Linked DNA regions of Homo sapiens: all the other regions are linked to region 5. The links are contacts of gene promoters, found by promoter capture Hi-C in human tissues and cell types (Jung and others, 2019). All regions are on one chromosome and are shown on one strand. The core of a region is centred on a gene start or on the middle of the fragment in contact, and the rest is flanking DNA. Distances in the headings are between cores, read along the strand shown. Region 1 has its middle 4.0 kb from the start of TRK-TTT2-1. Region 2 overlaps UBASH3B (ubiquitin associated and SH3 domain containing B). Region 3 has its middle 9.0 kb from the start of LINC02727. Region 4 overlaps UBASH3B (ubiquitin associated and SH3 domain containing B). Region 5 holds the start of HSPA8 (heat shock protein family A (Hsp70) member 8). Region 6 overlaps GRAMD1B (GRAM domain containing 1B). Region 7 overlaps GRAMD1B (GRAM domain containing 1B).

Evidence for each region. Contacts are between HindIII fragments. The study calls those that stand out against the background at their distance.
Region 1: a fragment that was not itself captured here is called in contact with the fragment with the promoter of HSPA8 in region 5 in 1 of the 25 tissues and cell types used here (spleen).
Region 2: a fragment that was not itself captured here is called in contact with the fragment with the promoter of HSPA8 in region 5 in 1 of the 25 tissues and cell types used here (dorsolateral prefrontal cortex).
Region 3: a contact is called between a fragment that was not itself captured here and the fragment with the promoter of HSPA8 in region 5, in 1 of the 25 tissues and cell types used here (thymus).
Region 4: a fragment that was not itself captured here is called in contact with the fragment with the promoter of HSPA8 in region 5 in 1 of the 25 tissues and cell types used here (dorsolateral prefrontal cortex).
Region 6: a contact is called between a fragment that was not itself captured here and the fragment with the promoter of HSPA8 in region 5, in 1 of the 25 tissues and cell types used here (mesendoderm cells).
Region 7: a contact is called between a fragment that was not itself captured here and the fragment with the promoter of HSPA8 in region 5, in 1 of the 25 tissues and cell types used here (adrenal gland).

What each region holds. Positions count from the first base shown.
Region 1 is chr11:122,562,599-122,565,298 of GRCh38, reverse strand. No RefSeq gene overlaps it. Among named protein-coding and RNA genes, the nearest start is that of TRK-TTT2-1, 4.0 kb to the right of the region's middle. The HindIII fragment of the contact is 5,016 bases long and covers 1-2,700 here.
Region 2 is chr11:122,759,286-122,761,985 of GRCh38, reverse strand. The region is part of intron 1 of UBASH3B (ubiquitin associated and SH3 domain containing B); the gene reads right to left. Among named protein-coding and RNA genes, the nearest start is that of CRTAM, 78 kb to the left of the region's middle. The HindIII fragment of the contact is 6,956 bases long and covers 1-2,700 here.
Region 3 is chr11:123,322,479-123,325,178 of GRCh38, reverse strand. No RefSeq gene overlaps it. Among named protein-coding and RNA genes, the nearest start is that of LINC02727, 9.0 kb to the right of the region's middle. The HindIII fragment of the contact is 4,223 bases long and covers 1-2,700 here.
Region 4 is chr11:122,739,148-122,741,847 of GRCh38, reverse strand. The region is part of intron 1 of UBASH3B (ubiquitin associated and SH3 domain containing B); the gene reads right to left. Among named protein-coding and RNA genes, the nearest start is that of UBASH3B, 85 kb to the right of the region's middle. The HindIII fragment of the contact is 4,619 bases long and covers 1-2,700 here.
Region 5 is chr11:123,060,809-123,063,508 of GRCh38, reverse strand. It overlaps HSPA8 (heat shock protein family A (Hsp70) member 8), which reads left to right and starts at 1,373. Exons shown (of 9, transcript NM_006597.6): 1 at 1,373-1,445; 2 at 2,180-2,389. The coding sequence starts at 2,185. LOC124902775 (a long non-coding RNA gene) reads right to left here and starts at 847. Exons shown (of 2, transcript XR_007062927.1): 1 at 1-847. RefSeq lists enhancers at 625-894, 1,455-1,624 and a silencer at 915-1,304. The HindIII fragment of the contact is 26,894 bases long and covers 1-2,700 here.
Region 6 is chr11:123,513,597-123,516,296 of GRCh38, reverse strand. All of the region lies in intron 2 of GRAMD1B (GRAM domain containing 1B), which reads right to left. Among named protein-coding and RNA genes, the nearest start is that of GRAMD1B, 85 kb to the right of the region's middle. The HindIII fragment of the contact is 9,471 bases long and covers 1-2,700 here.
Region 7 is chr11:123,474,586-123,477,285 of GRCh38, reverse strand. All of the region lies in intron 1 of GRAMD1B (GRAM domain containing 1B), which reads right to left. Among named protein-coding and RNA genes, the nearest start is that of GRAMD1B, 46 kb to the right of the region's middle. The HindIII fragment of the contact is 3,578 bases long and covers 1-2,700 here.

The DNA.
Region 1 (2,700 bases), core at 110-2,609, 500 kb after region 5:
TGCTTCTTTTTTTAGGGTTCAAAATGATGTGCCTTTTAAAATTTTAAATTTATTTTTAATTTAATTTTTATTGAGGTAAAATGTACATATAAGATTTACCATTTTTTTTTTTTACCATTTTAAGTACACAGTTCAGTGGTAATAATTATATTTATATTCTTTTTTCTTCCCTTCATCTTCTCCACTACTCTACTTTTCCCAGCCTCTGGTAACCACCAATCTACTATCTTTATAAGAGCTACATTTTTAGGTCCCACATATGAGTGAGACCATGTGATATTTGTCTTTCCGTGCCTGGCTTATTTCTCTTAATATAATGTCCTCCAGCTCCATCCATGCTGTTGCAAAGGACATGATCTCATTGCTTCTTATGGTTGGATAGTATTCCATGTTGTATATGTACAACTTTTTCTTTATCCAGTCCAGTACTGATGGGCACTGAGTTGATTTCATGTTATTGCTATTGTGAATAGTGCTGTGAGGAACATATGAGCCAGCACCATTTATTGAAAAAAACTGTTCTTTTCTTATTGTATGTTATTAGTGTCTTTGTTGAAGATGAGTTGGCTATAAATGTTTGGATTTATATCTGGATTCTCCATTCTGTTCAGTTGGTCTATGTTTCTTTTTTATGTCAGTATCATGCTGTTTTGATTACTATAGCTTTGTAGTAAATGTTGGAAAGAAGTTTGTTGATTTTCTTTATTTTTTAAAAAGTAGGTTTTTCTTTAATTGGTCTTTTGTATTTTTTTAGTGTAAATTTTGTTTATTGTTTTCTCTTATATTTATTATTTCATTTCTTCTACTAATTTGGGTTTGGCTTGTTCTTACTTTTCGAGGTTTTTTTTTTTTTTTTTTTTTTTGAGACAAAGTCTCACTCTATCTCCCAGGCTGGACTGCGATAGCCCTATCTTGGCTCACTGCAACCTCCACCTCCCAGGTTCAAGCAATTCTCTCACTTCAGCCTCCCAAGTAAATGGGATTACAGGCACCTCCCACCACACCCAGCTAAGTTTTGTATTTTTAGTAGAGATGGGGTTTTGTCATGTTGGCCAGGCTGGTCTCGAACTCCTCACCTCAGGTGATCTGCCCACCTTGGCCTCCCAAAGTGTTGGTATTATAGGCATGAGCCACCACACCCGGCCTTGTTTCTATTTTCATTTATTTCAAGAAATTTATTTCAGCCCCAGTGCTGGAGTGGTGCAGTGGCTACTGATCCCCCGAGCAGGTACACTCCAGCAATGACTCTAGCTTCAAGATGGTGCCATGCTGCAGCGGCTTGGCTCACAGTGGGTGGGTGAGGTAATCTGTGGCAATTCAGCTGTGTGAATTCTGGCAGCTCTCAAAACTGGGTCAGGGCTTGTGAGAACTCTGGGATTCTTTTGTTGTAAGGACTGCAGGTAAAGTGTCAATGGGGTCTGGTGGGGATCTCCTCTTATCTTTTCCTCACAATGGGAAGTCCTTCCTGACTCTGGAAAGATCTGATCTGGTACTGGGTGATGGGACTGCAGAGGCTGGGTGCCTCCATGCTGCCCTCCTGGACTTCCACTCACCACAGGTGTGCCTCCACTCCCCCACTGCACTTCAGCATGCTCCCTTCGACACTCCAGTCAAATCTTAGTAATTTCTTCATTGTCTTAGTCCTTTCTTGTGTGGAGGCCTCTCAAAGTGCTGGGATGACAGGCGTAAGCACCACGTTCAGCCTTTTCTAGTTTTTTGAGGTGTATGATTAGGTTGTTTATTTGAAACCTTTCTAGCTTATTGATGTAGGCATTTTTTTTATAATCTTGCCTCTTAGTACTGCTTAGTGCCAGACATTTCTAGTCAACCATCTTTCTGATGTCACTTCAGTTATTTTTTCATAAACATATTTTATTTCCTACATGATACCATTGAAAGTCATTGTCAAATGCTTTGATAAAATCTGTTGAAGTTCAGTGACCCTGTCAGTGAAAAACTCAAGGTTAGTCTGACATGTCATGCTCTTGGTGAACCAGTTTTAGTTCTGAGTTATCATCATTTCCTCCTTTTAGCGTTTCTTTTTTGATTTTTTAGTATTTTCATAGTTTTGGGGGCACAGGTGGTTTTCGGTTACATGGATAAGTTCTTAGTGGTGATTTCTGAAATTTTAGTGCACCTGTCACCTGAGCAGTGTACACTGGATCCAATATGTCTTCTTTTATCCTTCACCCTCTCCTGTCAGTATTTCTAAATAGCCATGTAAATGCCCCTTCTTTGATTTTGTCTATGTTTTTCTGAAAATTTTCCTACTTTCTACAACAGAATATTTTACCACGTGAAAATGAAAATATTACTGAGCCTCAAAACTTTTCAGAGTTTATGGTTCTATATAATTTGACCTGTGAGAAGAACTGATACAATTTTCAGGTATCATTTCAAGAGGAGAAATTTATAACTAATGTTTTTAAGTAAGAAATTGATACTTTAGAGTGAATGTTTATAAAGAAAGGAGGATAAAGGCACAAAATTATAATATATGTAAAATTCCCCTGAATAAGTTGCATTCCAACTAAATATCGGAGCTGTATTATATTGTGAGCTTATGTAATAATTATAAACTTTCTGGAGGAATATATATTGTTAAAATGAATTATTACTGTATGTTGGTGATACATTTTAGTTATTCACACAAAAACAACCATAGGACTGGAACTTTAAAGTGTATGAGAATTTATTCCC
Region 2 (2,700 bases), core at 77-2,576, 300 kb after region 5:
ACTCCATCTCTAATAAAAATACAAAAATTAGCTGGGCGTGGTGGTGCATGCCTGTAGTCCCAGCTACTCGGGAGGCTGAGGCAGGAGAATCGCTTTAACCCGGGAGGCAGAGGTTGCAGTGAGCAGAGATCATGCCACTGTACTCCAGCCTGGCAACAGAGTGAGACCCTGTCTCAAAAAAAAAAAAAAAAAAAAAAAAAAAAAAAGGATCTGGGAGAAACAGATGAAAATGAAGAGTGATTTCAGGTTGCAGATGACAACAGAGACTAGCTGTTTTTTCTCTTATTTCCACCCCCTTTTCTCTCTAACCCACTAGAATCAGCTAAAAATACTTAAACTTGGGTAATTTTTAGTCCTTCTGAAACGGTTTCAGCCCAAAGCTACATAGGAGACTCTGGCTAACGGCTTTGGTGGGTCAGAGAAAACGTATGCAGACCAGACAGAGCCACTGTCACTCTTCTGTAACTCTTCTTGGTAAGTAATTTGTTAGCAACACTTATTTATGTTTTATTTTTTGGAGTTGGTGTCTCACTCTCACCCAGGCTGAAGTGCATCAGTATAATCACAGCTCACTGCAGCCTCGACCTCCTGGCCTCAAGTGATCCTCCTGTGTCAGCCTCCTGTGTAGCTAGGACTACAGGTGTGTGCCACCATGGCAGGCTATTTTTTTATTTTTATTTTTGGTTGTTGGTAGAGATGGGGGTAAAGAATATGTGAGTAAACACAAAGAAGTCACGGACTTGGATAACTAAGCTGAGGCCTTTCTACCAGGAGGATGGGTTAGTATCATGAGACTCTTGAGAAGACCTTCCAAGGAGAGTGGGGAGATGCCACTTAAGAGAAACCCTCCTCTGCCACCTCGGCCCTGCCAACTGACACTCTCGTGAAGATTTGAAACTCCTCCAAACCAGACTATAGGTCAGATTCTACCAAAGGAAATACCGTCATGGCAAAAACTCCTGCGCAGTCAAACCCATCCTGCTGGTCATTATTTCCAGAGTTATCAGTTATCCAGGGAGACCGAAATCCAGGGTAGAGAAACAACTGGATGGTCTTGGGGTTCATGGTATAAAGAGATGACCAGTATAGTTAGGTATGGAATATGGTATGACAAAAAGAGATTTCCAGTTTACACTGCTGCCATCCAGGATTCAACGTAAGGCATCCCATCCTACTTTTTAAACTCTTCATCTCCAAAAACATGTTTAGACTCCTTAGCATGGCATGCTGAGTCCTCCATGGCCTCACATCTGTCTCCTTCTTCAGTTTCACCCTCAAACATTCTGCTCCCTGGTTCTTCTCTCACACTTAAAACCTTTCTCTGGGGCTGGGTGCAGTGGCTCACACCTGTAATCCCAGCATTTTGGGAGGCCAAGGTGGGTGGATCACAAGGTCAGGAGTTCAAGACCAGCCTAGCCAACCTGGTGAAACCCCGTCTCTACTAAAAATACAAAAAAATTAGCCAGGTGCGGTGGTGCATGCCTGTAATCCCAGCTACTTGGGAGGCCGAGGCAGGAGAATTGCTTGAACCCGGGAGGCGGAGGTTGCAGTGAGCCAAGGTTGAGCCACTGCACTCTAGCCTGGGTGACAGAGCAAGACTCCATCTCAAAGAACAATAACAAAAAAAAAAAAAACTTTCTCTGTTGGTTCCTTTTCCTGCAAGGCTAACTCCACCCTCAGTTACCTGGCTAGCTCCTGCCTATCCTTTAACACTCACTTGCATTTCATTTCCTCCAGGAAGTGGTCCCTACCTGTCTGGGCACCCTTACCAGCCAGGCGGTTGTATCATAGCACCTTCCAAATTATATTTAAAAGATCTGTCTTTGCAATAGACCATGAGCTACTTGAAGCAGAGACCATTTCTTGTTTTCTTTGCATCTCTAGTAGCTGGCACATAGTAGGTGTTAAAATTTTAAAAATATGAACTTCCTGAAGATGTTAAAGGTATATGTATATCAGTGTGGCAGACAGACCCTTGGTGACACCTTAGTAATCCTAACTTCTGGTGTTCACTCCTTTGTATAATTCCCTCCCCTCAAGTGTAGGTGAGACCTATGACTTACCTCTATATGGCAAAGGTGATGGAATCACTTGTGCTATTCCATTATGACACACATAAGACACATCTAAGTCAGGTGTCTCCAACCCCTGAGCCACAGATGGGTACTGGTACGTGGCCTGTTAGGAGCCAGGCTGCACAGCAGGCAGGCAGGCGAGTGAGCATTACTGCCTGAGCTCTGCCTCCTATCAGATCAGTGGCAGCATTAGATTCTCACAGGAGCACAAACCCTACTGTGAACTGCACGTGCAAGGGATCTAGGTTGCAGGCTCCTCAGGAGAATCTAATGCCTGATAGTCTGTCATTGTCTCCCATCACCCACAGATGGTCCCAACTAAGTCAGGGGTCTCCAACTAGACGGTCCCACCTAGTTTCAGGAAAACAAGCTCAGGGCTCCCACTCATTCTACATTATGGTGAGTTGGTTGTATCACTATTTCATTATATATTACAATGTAATAATAATAGGAATAAAGTGCACAATAAATGTAATGCACTTGAATCATCCCCAAACCATCACACCACCACCCGGGTCAGTGGAAAAACTGTCTTCCACAAAACCGGTTCCTGGTGCCAAAAAGATTGGGGACCACTGCTCTAAATGACTCGCTTTCCTGCTGGCCAAGGAGAAGCAGCATGTTG
Region 3 (2,700 bases), core at 82-2,581, 260 kb before region 5:
AGTATTGAAGGGGGGTGATGACAAGATAGCCCTGGCTTGAGGGGAGGTCCAGAAATGTGTAATGGGAAGTAAACTGAAAGCTAGACACTGGTTGCTCAGAATACTAGCCAAGGTGTTTGCACTGGGTTCTGCTGGCAATGTGAACCATTAAAAATCTTAGGGAATTTGGACTGATAAATGACCAAAAAAAGTGTTTTAGGAATATTAATCTGGCAATGGCAAGCAGGATAGAGTGAAGCTCAGGAGAAACTCTTCTTCATTTAATTATGCTTCTAAGTAGAATACCTCTTAGAAAACTAGTAATTATCATTCCAGCCTGATAAAGTCTTGAATTAGGGCAGTGATAAACAGCAAGGGAAGAATAGAAAAGAAGGAAAAGGAGTTAGAGGAAAATCTATAGACCTAGGACATTGGCTATAGGTGCCAGGGGTGGGACTGGGGTAGTGTCAAGTTAGTCAAACATGAATTAAGGCTCCGAGTATGGATAAAAGAAATAAGCAAGTCAGAAAAGGAGACACATGATTTTTCTCCTTGCTGGAAAGTAACTACAAGACAGTTAAATGTATTAAATGTGATTCATTTGAGTATAGAAATTTGGGGGTTGGAAAGATCCAGGTTCAAATGAGCAATGAGAGTTGGAGGTCTGAAATAAAGAGAAATTCATGTTGCGTATGTGGACATGGGAATTCATTACGTCTTTTGGCACCAACTATATATGAGGTATGCATTAGGATGCAAAGGGGCCAGAAACAAAGAAGACACTCGTTAACTCAGGAATCATCTACACAGGTGTGTTGGCTGACGTACACAGTGAATGAGATCTGAGCTGAATAAAGAGCTGAATAAAGAACAGGGGATAATGGTGGGATGTAGTAGTTTCGTCTTTACAACGTGTAGAGAAGAGAAGTAGTGGGAACTTCAGAAGCATGAAACAACCCCAGAGCCAAATAAACATGCGGTTTTAAGAAGATGGTGCTATAGAATGCTACTGAGATCAGACAAATGGAAAAGTTGCTGGATTTAGCGATTAGAAAGTAATTGGTAACCTTTGAGAAGGGAATTTTAGTCCAGCTGCAGAGAGTTAAGAAACAAGTGGATGGTGAAAAAGTGGGAGATATTGGTAGGCGTTGTTCACCCAGAGTGGCTTCTTGACAACTTTTCTACACAGTGAGTCCTTCTGCTGCATTGTGTTTTGGCTGGTATGGGAATGGCAGTGTGGAGATATTACACATTTGGTAATAGGCACTCAAGAATTTAATGTCTTTGAAAATGAGAAGTGTTAGGCAAGCCACAGTCGTATTACAGTTGTAGACTCTGAAATAGTGTGAATTTTCCCATAATAATGGCACTTATCACACCACTTAAGTCAAAGAGGATACTTTCCAGCTCAGATATGCTTTCTAATCAGTAGTTAAGGAGTCTCCTTTCTGCGTGTTCACCTTCTTAAATTATTCAATTAAACGTTTATCTTTCCCCTAGGGACCTAATCAAATATGTGGTAAAACCACTTAGAACCACATTATAAGTTTCCTTTCTTCCTTACTTTTCTCTCATTGGCTATAAAAAAAAATTGGTCCCTATCAAAAAAACAATAAAACAAAATCCCAAACACACTTCATTAGCGAGAACAAGGGCTCTATTTTCATTATGAACCTGATATCCCTACACTCAGAGCATCCACCTTGTGGGGAGAGCCCAGTACAGTCCTGATATGGTTCTTCCTATTTCTGATTTGAGGATTTGAATGTGAGTTGAGAAACACAGACTCTCAAGCTTGAATGACTTAAAACTATAGCTAATATCTGTGCTCTCCACAACATCTCCTGTGCATTCAATGTCTTCCTCTCTGTTACTGAATCACATCTAAGTACCCTTGCTTGATTTTAGGACTTTTTCTCATCTTTTCCTACTGGATTCATTCAACCTCATTTTATATTCCACTCTAATGTACACTCATCACTGAGTCAGTCTGGTTTTACCAATATATCTCAAACATATGCCCATGGATCACCAATTCTGTGCATGCCATTATGCTGTTCTCCTTTCTGAAATGCTCTTCCCCTTGCCCACCTTAATTCCTTTTATCTTCTTTTTATTTATTTATTTATTTATTTTTTTTTTTGAGACGGAGTCTCGCTCTGTCGCCCAGGCTGGAGTGCAATGGCGCGATCTCGGCTCACTGCAAGCTCCACCTCCCGGGTTCACGCCATTCTCCCACCTCAGCCTCCCGAGTAGCTGGGACTACAGGCACCTGCCACCACACCCGGCTAATTTTTTGTATTTTTTATTAGAGAAGGAGTTTCACCGTGTTAGCCAGGATGGTCTTGATATTCTGACCTCATGATCTGCCTGCCTCGGCCTCCCAAAGTGCTGGGATTACAGGCATGAGCCACCACGCCCGGCAATTCCTTTTATCTTCTAAGAACCTGACTTAAACACCTCCTCCCTTTGGAGCCCTCCCATGTTATTGCAGTCTATAATTATCTCCTATTTTTTCCAATGTTTTTAGTCTTTAGAAGCTAACTGAGCATTTTTACATCCCATGAGAACAAAAACATCTTGGTCACTTGTCTTGTATTATTCACTCTAATCTATATGTGTAGATATCACGCTCCTAAGGAAGCATGTGCCACAACTTACAGTTCACTTTATTTTGTTCACTGGTATATTGCCCACCCCTGGAGCTGTGCCTGGAACATA
Region 4 (2,700 bases), core at 158-2,657, 320 kb after region 5:
CAGAAGGGTCCAGGAAGCAGAACCCGTGGGAGGGAGGGGGGAAGAGCAAAGGAGGGTTGCTGACTCCAGAAGAGGCTCTGAAGCAGCCTGGCCACCCAAGTTCAGAAAGTTCACGTTTCTGGGGCCTGGCTGTCGTGAGGGCCTTATGGGAGGGAAGAGGAGCAGCTGGATGCCTTGCTGCTTACAGGTCTGTGCTCTCCCAAGCAAAGCATCACGGGGCCTCATAACGCAAATGTCTCGGCCTTCCCACCAGGAGACCCGCGAGGATTTCAGGCTTGGAGTATTCGATCACTCACGCAGTTCCTCTGGAGTGGGATGTTCACTGACCACTATGTGAACTGACTTAGATCTTAAAGAGACGGGCTTGAAAGGAAGCAAACACAACCTCCGGTTTTGCTCATTCACTGAGTTCTAACACGAACCCGAATGTTCATTTATTGGTAAACAGCCAATGCAAAGAGTGCTATTTTTGTTGATTTATGTCTTTGTGGGTTTGGGTTTGTTTCTGCTGTTTGAAACACTTCGGGGATACATCTCATTTAAGATCCAATTGAAAATTTTTAAAATTCATTATGAAGGAAAAGAGCCGAACATGAAAATATTCTATGAACTGAGAGTAAATTGAATATTTTATTCTGTGAAGATCTTATAAAATCTGAATCACATCACAGCTTTAGTCCTCAAACTAGCTGAGAGGTTAAGTTCTGAATTCCTCAATTTTTATATAAAAAATAAACTTTGTCATTTTTAAGGTGAAAAGAGCGAATAACCTGGAAATACTTTTACGTAATTGGGGCTTACCTTGAGGACAGAATTCATTTATATGTTAATATGCGCTTTGAAGTAAGAAGGAATCAAAATCCCTGCGAACGATTTGTTTTTAATTAGATTACTAACCTCAGTCCCCATTTTATGTACACATTATGTCCCACTAAAGCAGGACTTTTGCTAAAAAATGCTCTAAAGAGTGGGTTCTGTTTCACTTTAAAAGTAATATAGTGAATTTTTATAAAAAATGAACATGCAGAGATGTTTGTCTACAACAACCTCTATCTTGGTGTTCAGTATCTCAAAGCTGGCCTCAACTGACCTTTCTGCCTTCAGCTTGCCCCCTTGCCCCACACACATGTACACAGATGGCCTGCACACATCTGGTATGGCAGGGTCGCTTGCAAGTACAGACTCAGGAGTGTACAGGATGGTTTATATTCAAATTATAGCTTATCACTCTGTTATGGGCAAGTTATCCAACCTCTCTAAGCATCAGTGATATCCCATGTACAATGGGAATAATAATAGGACTGCCTCATATGGTTGCCGTGTGCATCAAGTGAAATAAAACAAGTACTTAGCACCATGCACACAACACATATTGTGCTTTCAGTAAACAGCTGCTGGCATCCTAATCCTGGGACAACACACGGTTCACCCTTTACAGAGCCAGCCATTCTCTTTCAAGTACATGCTCTTTCATCAGGAAACATGTCAGGAAAGCCCATCCCCTTTTCTTCACCTGGGAAGATTCAGTTCACAATTCAAGGTGCAGTTCAAATGCCAGATTTGCTGAAAGTTTCTTGTGACCTCCCAATTCCCACCTGCATGATAGCCAGTTAGTAGCTCCAAATTAACCTATTCACAGTCTACTTAAATTATGTCTTTAGATCTTGCTTTGCCACAAAATATGGGATCCTTCAGCGTGTAGAACTGAATATTATTCCTCTTTGCACTGCAGATGCCAGGCACCAAGCAGACACTCAATATTTATTAAATGAATATGACAAAATGGAATCAAATGGCATCTGCGAGGATGTCAGGACGTATGGAACATATGGCTTTACAGAAATACAATCCATATTACAGCTTTTCTAGAAACTAGTTATTTCTGGGTGGACATGAATGTAAGGAAATCAGCTATCATAGAAGACAGGATAAAAGGAGAACACTGAAGAAGAAATTAGGCAATGGCTTCAGGGCTGTGCCATCTGTCTGAAGGATGTGTTATCCATCTTGTAGGTAAATCCCATAAAGCTTAATGGGAAAGTGATACTTTTGAACCACTGCCCAGCCCCAAATGTAAAAACTCTTGCATCAAGACAATTTGGTACACAGCAAATGAGCTATGCCAATTTGTCAAATCAGAGAGTGAGCAGAGATGAAAATTTAGCCCTGCACTTGGAAGGAAACTTTTCAGAAGACTGTTTTTTCCTTCAGTATTGCAAAGTTAGGAAGAAAATTTATGTCTCCTGAAAATCAGAGGAGAGTAAGACATTCCAATACCCGACCATGGATACCCACCAACAGCATGGAGCTGTCAGGAGGAGGATAGAGCGTGAGAAGAATACTGTATGCCAAGCACTATAGTAGGTACTTGATAGAAAATGCAATGCCCAAAAGAACCTCAGAGAGAAATCTTATTATTCCCATTTTATTAGTGGAGAAATTGAGTCTTGATGAGGTTAAGTGACCTAGCCAAGGTTAAATGCTTACAAGTGATTTTTTTGCTCTCTATTAAAATTCCTCCCCCAGCCACACACTGTGGACAGCTCTTTTCTAAATCTTCCTCCTCTATAATCCATACTTCTCTCTATTGTTAGAATAATTTTTCTAAAACAGGTTGAGTTAAACTTTCCACTCCTCAGTCTGGGCATCGTAGTGAGACCCTGTCTCTACAAAAAATTTACAAATTACCCGGGTGTGGTG
Region 5 (2,700 bases), core at 124-2,623:
ACAGGCTCTTGGAACCACAAGGCCCCACATATCCGCGGCCATGCACAACATTGCACAATTCAAAATTCTAGGCACCATTGTTTTGTGCACCAGCTCAGTCACGTTTTCAAAGCGTCGGTATGGTCTGTCGTTTAATTTTTGATGAAAGTCAAACCAGGAAAGATATCACCTCATGTTACTGAAAATACAAACGTTCAGAAAGTCTAAATCAAGGACGCACGGCTACTGGAACCTATGATTCCTAATGCCTGGTTCACCTAACCAAGAACACACTCGCCACCATTTAAACCTGTTTATTTTATAAACAACGGGGAAATGTAGGGCTTGGGCTAGTTGGGGAAGGACTGAGCCAAGAAGCCGAATCTGTTCTAGACGGAGGTGGGAAGGGGCCTAACGGTCAGGGCTCAGAGAAGCGGTTTCGCCTTCTTTTCCGCGGAGGGATCCAGACACGACCGCGTCCTGAGGCGGTTCTGAAAAGCCGGGCCCCTTAAACCTCTGCGTCGGGGGCTGCCTCCCGACAGTTGCCGTAGGGAAATGCAGGTGCTGGGAGGCCTGCCGAGCTAACCCGCCCCACCCCGCGGCGGCCTGGCGGCTCCCTCCAATCCCAATCCTGGGGGGCCGTGAGCGAGCAGCCCTAGTGGCACCCTGAAGCCGGAACCTTCGCCCCAGCCCCTCGGGGTCAGCCCTTGTCCAAAGCCACGCTATGAAATACAGATTCGCGAAACCCGGGGCACTTAGAGGCCCGTCTGGAACACGAAGGTGGGGCATGGAAAGGAGGATTCGGACGTGGGTGGGGGAGGGGAGCAACAACCTTCGCAGCCATTTTGTCCTCGCTCCACTTCCGTCTTCTCCTGCCCGGCTCCCGCGCCCAAACCCCTCCCTTCAGGCCCCGCGCGATTCCGCCCCCAGTTCTGTGCCGGCCAAGATCCCGGCTAGCGCCGCTATCATTGGTTAGTTCCAAGTTTGCCCGCCCCTCTTCCTCCTCCTTTTTCCGCCCCCTCCCTCCCGCGGAAGCTGGGGGCGCATGCGTAGAGGTGGACGCTCCCCTCCCCCGCCCGGGGTAACTGAGGACTCCCGCGCGCGGACTCGCTGCGCCCCACCCTCCCTTTCCCCGGGGCCGTCCGGAGAGCGGGGGCGAGCTTGAAAGTTCCAGAACGCTGCGGTGAGTGCGTTATCGTGAGGCGGAGCGCGGTGGGGTGGGTGCGGAAGGGGGCGAGGCCCGAGGAGTGGAGCCGGGCTTGTGATTGGGTCTTGTAAGGGCAGCCGGGCGTCTATTGGCCGGGGAAGCCGTAATGGCAGGCAGCAGGGGCGGGCCCCTTCTGGAAGGTTCTAAGATAGGGTATAAGAGGCAGGGTGGCGGGCGGAAACCGGTCTCATTGAACTCGCCTGCAGCTCTTGGGTTTTTTGTGGCTTCCTTCGTTATTGGAGCCAGGCCTACACCCCAGGTAAAACCTCTGCTCAAGAGTTGGGTTGTGGGTCTGGGAGCGTGCAGCCTCCACACAGGCCTGTTGGGCTTGCTGAGGCTTGGGGGTTCTGAGAATCTCGTCGAGGCGAGTGTGCGGCTCCTTCTACCGGCTTAAAGGGCCTCAGTTTTCGGTGGGATGGCAGCGGTATTTGGTTGCAGCCGGCAGGACGGAAATGTAGGGAGTGGGCCGCAGTGGCCCCAGGGGAGGCTGGGAGACGCCCGGCGGCCGCGTGGCGGGGGAGGGTTGCTGCATCGGTTTGCCTGGCGCGCGGGGAAGTGGAGCCAGCGTTTTCTTTCACCCAGTTCCCTGCTTAGTCCAGTCCCACCGTGGTTCTTCAGAGCTGTTCTTGGCGTGCTTCCAGTATGGGGGTACATTCCGGAGTAGTTAAAAGCCCGTTGACTCCCGGGGGCACTGGCACCTGGCGAGGGAGGGGAACAGACAGTGCTCAGTTCGGGGTAAGACCACGTGTTGAGCAACGCCCCACGCCGTCTGGGTAGATGGGTCCTTCATCTAGGGCGTGCTCTGCTGCGGTTGGCACGGCAACCTGGACTGCAGCACTAGTTCTGGACCTCGCGCGTGCTTAGACAGGAGGTGATGGGCACTATTACCTCTTGGCAGTGGCCATACGTTTTTCCTGGTTAAGTGTTCTGTTAAGGGATGAGGGAAATATTTTGATTAATTGAATTTTTAAACCAGATTTTTCTTTTTTTCAGCAACCATGTCCAAGGGACCTGCAGTTGGTATTGATCTTGGCACCACCTACTCTTGTGTGGGTGTTTTCCAGCACGGAAAAGTCGAGATAATTGCCAATGATCAGGGAAACCGAACCACTCCAAGCTATGTCGCCTTTACGGACACTGAACGGTTGATCGGTGATGCCGCAAAGAATCAAGTTGCAATGAACCCCACCAACACAGTTTTTGGTGAGTTCCTAATTTTAAATGACAGAACAAATATAACAGGGCTAGGAAGCACAAAAGTTTATGAAACGTGAGGAGGGAACTTTTTGATTTTAGAAAAACTGAGCTGAGAGACTTGTTATCAAGTCTGTTATAAAACAGGTTGTAGAAACCTTTCAGGCTGAAATCTGGATAACGTAGGAGGTTGAAGTTTGAACCTTTGCTACCTATATGGTAGTTGAATTCACCTACCTATGAACTGTTAGGTATTTGAGTAATCATGGACTTGAGTTTTATCAGAAGAGCTATGAAATTGAAAGTGTTTTCATTTGACA
Region 6 (2,700 bases), core at 164-2,663, 450 kb before region 5:
AGACATGAGACTGGCATATCATGAGTAAACCAAAGGGTTCAGCTTCCATCCATTTTGTGACCAGCGCTATTCAGTAAATGCTTTTCCATGCACTAAGCCACTAGCTACCTTTGATGATCCAGTGGCACTTGTGTGCTGGCGTGTACCATGATGGGGTTTTTACATGGATTGGTAATGAATTGAGAAAAATTAGGACAATGTGGTAAACACCAAAAGGTTAAATATGTTGGCTGGGTGCGGGGGCTCACACCTGTAATCTTGGCACTTTGGGAGGCCGAGGTGGGCAGATCACTTGAGCTCTAGTGTTTGAGACTAGACTGGGCAACATGGTGAAACCCTCGTCTCTACTAAAAATACAAAAATTAGCCCGGCGTGGTGTTGCCCACCTGTGGTCCCAGCTACATGGGAGGCTGAGGCAGGAGGATTGCTGGAGCCCCGGAGGCGGAAGTTGCAATGAGCTGAGATCATGCCACTGCACTCCAGCCTGGGAGACAGAGCAAGACTCTGCCTCAAAAAAAAAAAAGGTTTGAATATATTGACAGCATGACCTTTTAAATTTTGTGTTTAAATATTCTTTAAATATACATATACATAGTGGTGGTAGTTCTATGTTTCAGTTTAGTTGCTAGCTTTCATAGGTAAAATAAATAACTGGTAATTCTGTGCTGGTCCACCAATTTTTTTCAATCTCTCCACAAAATCCAGAAGTTCAGACTCCCCTATGAAGAAGGCTCTCCGTTCTAAGACCTCATCCTATAAGGAGAGCCTCTGCCTCTCAACTGCTGTGACGGGGCATCTGATTTTTTTGGATTTTGGAATATTTGCAGGATACATAGTCAAATCTGAAGTCTGAAATGCTCTAATGAGTATTGCCTTTGAACGGCATGTTGGCACTCAATACGTTTCAGGTTTGGGAGCATTTCTAATTTCAGATTTTCAGATCTGGGATGCTCAACCAGTACCACTCCCTAACCTCAGACACAAATTTCTCATTGTTTCTGAACAACTTCACCTAGATATCTCACGGGCAGTTCAGAGCCAGTATGAATAAAGGGAACTCCTCACTGTCCCACTGTCTCCTCCCAACTCTGACGTCTTGTATCAATCTCAAATCACACCACCAGCTACCAAGTGACCCAGTCAGAAACCAACGATTCACCCTAGACTCCTCCATCTCCCATTTAATTAGGAACTACGTCGTGTCAGTTCTAGCACCTGAAATATGACTAGAGTGTGCTTCTTGCTGTCAACGTTCACCTGCCTTTCAATTCTTACCTTTAGGTTTGCAGTTGCAGTTACCCTCTCCTATTTGTTCATTCACCAAATATTTATTGAGCATCTATCACCTGCCAAGTAAAATGCTAAGTGCCAGGGTTTCTGTGAATTAAGAAACAAAACACACAATCCCTGCCCTCAAGGAGCTCACAGTCTAGTGGGGAGAGATAGATGTAAAAATAATAGTAATAATAAAGTTATCAGAGATGGAGCAAAATGAGGCAATTATCTTACTTGTCTACCTTGGAGCCAGAGTACTTTCTCAAAAGCAAACCTGATGGTACCTCGAAGTCCTTCAGCTGTTCGCAGTGTCTATGCAGTCTCAGCACTGCACGGGCTTTCACAGCGCTTCAGCTCCCTGCTTCTGTTTCTGGTTTTCACATTTGCCTCTTGTCTTCCACATGCATCCTAAGCACCAGTCCTGCCAAGCTACTTGTCGTGCCCTGGGCCCTGCCATGTCCATCCTGGGCCCACTATTCTCTAACAGATCTCTGCACCCACAGCCACCATTCAGTGACTATCTGCAGTGTGCCAGGCATTAATCCTAAGACATTGCATTTAATCCTCATGACAATCCCAGCGTATTGATGGTGAACTCATGGACAAACGAGGAAACTGAGACCAGGGAAGGCCAAGATAACCCACTCAAGTTCACAGAGCCAGAAAGCAACAGGGTCAGCATTTGAACCTAGATATGTCCAACTCTAAATCACAGCCACATCATCTTTCCTCTCTTGTCCACCTGATAAATTCCCACCCACACTTCAGGTCTCAGATCAAATGTAACCTTCTTTACAAAGCCCTTTATGAACTGCCCAGTCAAGTAATTCTTCTTGCGTCCCTGATTTTGAACCTATTACCTTGTGTTGCCATAATTTGTTTACTTGTCTGTCTCCCCCGAGGACCCATGAACAACTCTTCACGGCGATTGTGAACTACCCATCTCTAAACTCTCCATACTGAACTCTCTCCACTGGCATACAGTCAGCATTTAATAACCCTCTGGTGAATGAATGGGTTAATTAATGCTCCCTAACCTCTTTTCTCAAAGTTAAGACAAAAACTCTTGCCAGCACAGTGGCTCAAGCCTATAATCCCAGCACTGTGGGAGGCCAAGGTGGCAGAATTGCTTGAGCCCAGGAGTTCGAGACCAGCCTGGGCAACATAGTGAGACTCCATTTCTACAAAAAATAAAAAATTAGCCAAGTGTGGTGGCATGCACCTGTAGTCCCACCTGCTCAGGAGGCTGAGGCAGGAGGATCACTTGAGCCCAAAAAGTTGAGGTTGCAGTGAGCCATGATCGCACCACTGCACTCCAGTCTAGGCAATAGAGACCCTGTGAAAGAAGAAAAGAAAGAAAGAAAGAAAGGTAAGAAAAAGAAAGAAAGAAAGAAAGAAAGAAAGGAAGGAAGGAAGGAAGGAAGG
Region 7 (2,700 bases), core at 33-2,532, 410 kb before region 5:
GAGGGAGAGGGGAGGGGGAAGGGAAGGAAGGGGGAGAAGGGGAGAGGATGGGAGGGGGAGAGGAGGGGGAGGGGGGAGGGGAGGCAAGGGAGAGGGAAAGAAAGAGAAAAAGAAAGAAAGAAGGAGGAAAGAAAGAAAGAGAAAGAAATGTGAAGTATGAAAAAGAGCATCTGCCACATTTTAACTGCTATGTAAATGCCAGGTGCCATTATCCTATATGCAAGGCATCATTTTATGGGTTATAGGAAAAGAAAGACGTGAATCAAACAAGGATCCTGCTCTCAAAGTGCTTAGAATCAGGAAAGTAAGATTCAATATAAATAACTATATTTAAAAGCAGAAAAATGATAACTCTCAATACTATGTATTAAGTGCTATGGGAACACAGAATGCAGAAATGTCATGTCCTTCTGGGACCAGTAAGACAATTCTGTCTTAACAACAAGATTTTTGTGCTGCCACTTAAAACTGGATAGACTCAAGACATGCAGAAATGAGAAGAAAAGGCATTCTAGTTCAATTCCGTTTACCACTCTCATGTACCCAGCACTGTGCTAGGAGACAGTACTGTAAAGATGATCAGGACAAGGTCTCTCCAGCAAAGAGCTCCCAGTCTAAGACATACAAATATTCACCGTGGACTGTGATGCAACAACAGCAGAAAAATGAACAAGGTGTAGCTGGTGGACACCTCTGTTGGAAAGCTCCAGGGAACACATCAGAGAGGTGAACATCGAGCTGGAGGGACTCTAGATAAATCCATGGTGGCAACAGGCATAGGGTATATACAGGATCTTTCCTCCTCCAGTACCCTCGGCAGAGGCCTGGCCCTATTTCCTCCCATTATTTGAGCTTGTTTTTCAACAGTCTTAAAGAAGTTAAATGGGCCGGGTGCGGTGGCTCACGCCTGTAATCCCAGCACTTTAGGAAGCCGAGGCGGGTAGATCACCTGAAGTAAGGAGTTCGAGACCAGCCTGGCCAACATGGTGAAACCCTGTCTCTACTAAAAATACAAAAATTAGCCAGGTGTGATGGTGCACGCCTATAATCCCAGCTACTCGGGAAGTTGAGGCAGGAGAATCACTTGAACCTGGGAGGTGGAGGTTGCAGTGAGCCAAGATCGTGCCACTGCCCTCCAGCCTAGATAACAGAGACTCCGTCTCAAAAAAAAAAAAAAGAAGTTAAATGGATGAATTGCTGCCAACCACTCCTCCACTCAATCCCATGAAATAATATTGTTGAGCAGAATTTCCAGAGATTCAGACACTGCCTCACCCTCTCACACACACCCTTTCAATTCTTCTCTTATATGAGCCTTTTTCAATGATATAGGCCACCTGGACCCCAGGCAACTCACGCTGCTCCCTAAATAAACCTACCAGTCTTCGGAGACCATGAAAAGAGCAACCTCCAGGCCAAGGTGTTTATAAAGGAGTGCAGCATGCTACAAGGTCAAAAAGCACACCTCCCTCCACTCCAGATTAGTCAAGGCCTTAGTGGGAGAAGACATCCAGTCTGCGTCCACTCTGGGATTCAGGAGGTTGAAAAGAACTTGGAGAAAGTCCAGCAGAGGGCACTAACAGATGAAACTGTCTGTTGGAAACCCTGAAAAAGAAACTCTAAACTAGGATTTGGAATGTCCTTGCCTGGGCACCGGATGACTGAAAGATGGCTTAACACTGCAAGGAAGGGAATTTGTATAAGCAACTGCTTGCCATTCGCTCAAGACAGCTAGATATGGAACTAGGATGACTTTAATCCCTCCTGCTGTACATTCAAGCTTCAGATAAAATTCACTGTATAAATTAAATTTTGGAACACTAGACCATGTTCCTAAATAAGATGGGAAGCTCTTGGTAAAATTCTGGGATATTCCTGAGGGAAACCAGCTGAAGCAGAATCCTGGTTTTGTTTAAGACCAGCGTGCTAGTGCAGGAGCTTATCCTGGAAGGTCACATTAATACCAGCAGCACTGGAAGGACTGGGAAAAATCCACAGGAATCTGAGCCAAAGCACGCTCCACAAGGGAGAAATTCACTAGGCTTTGACCAGGAAGCTCTGCAATGCGGGCTGGGCAAATTCTCATGATTCCAGTGATCTCCCTTCCTCCCTCCCTGTACCCAGGACACGTGCAGAAAGTACAGACTAAACCCACGAACCACCAGGAAGCCGTCCTTCTGCCCTCTGAAAGGCACGGCTTTACTGCTAGAAAGACGGAATATGGCAACCTCTACTGAGTAGGTGCTTCCTAGGGAGAAACAGCTCTTTCTCTTCCAGGCAACCCTACAGGAGTCATAGCTTCCTATGCCCAGAAGGGGTTCTGAGAGATTCAGGTGGTCCCAAGCCGTCATGGGGGCATGTAGGCTGTAATGCAGTATTTCCAGAGCCTGATGGAAACTACATTTACCCACACCCAGGCTGCAGAGACTAATGTACTGCATCTCTTTACTTCTGGCTGCAACTGAGGCAATCTCTCCTGTTAGTATCAATTATCTCATGCTAATTAGAAGCTGCAAAAGGCTCTGAGTGGCAGTTATAGATGTCTTTGTGTCTTTGTTAATAAAAATGGGGAAATATATTATTTTAAGCAGTGATACAGTAGAAATAGCACCAAGGCAGACAAACCTGGGTTTGCCCCCTGCCTTTATTTGTTTTTTGTTTTTCTGGATTGAGGTCCTTGGGACATAGGCTTTGTTTCTT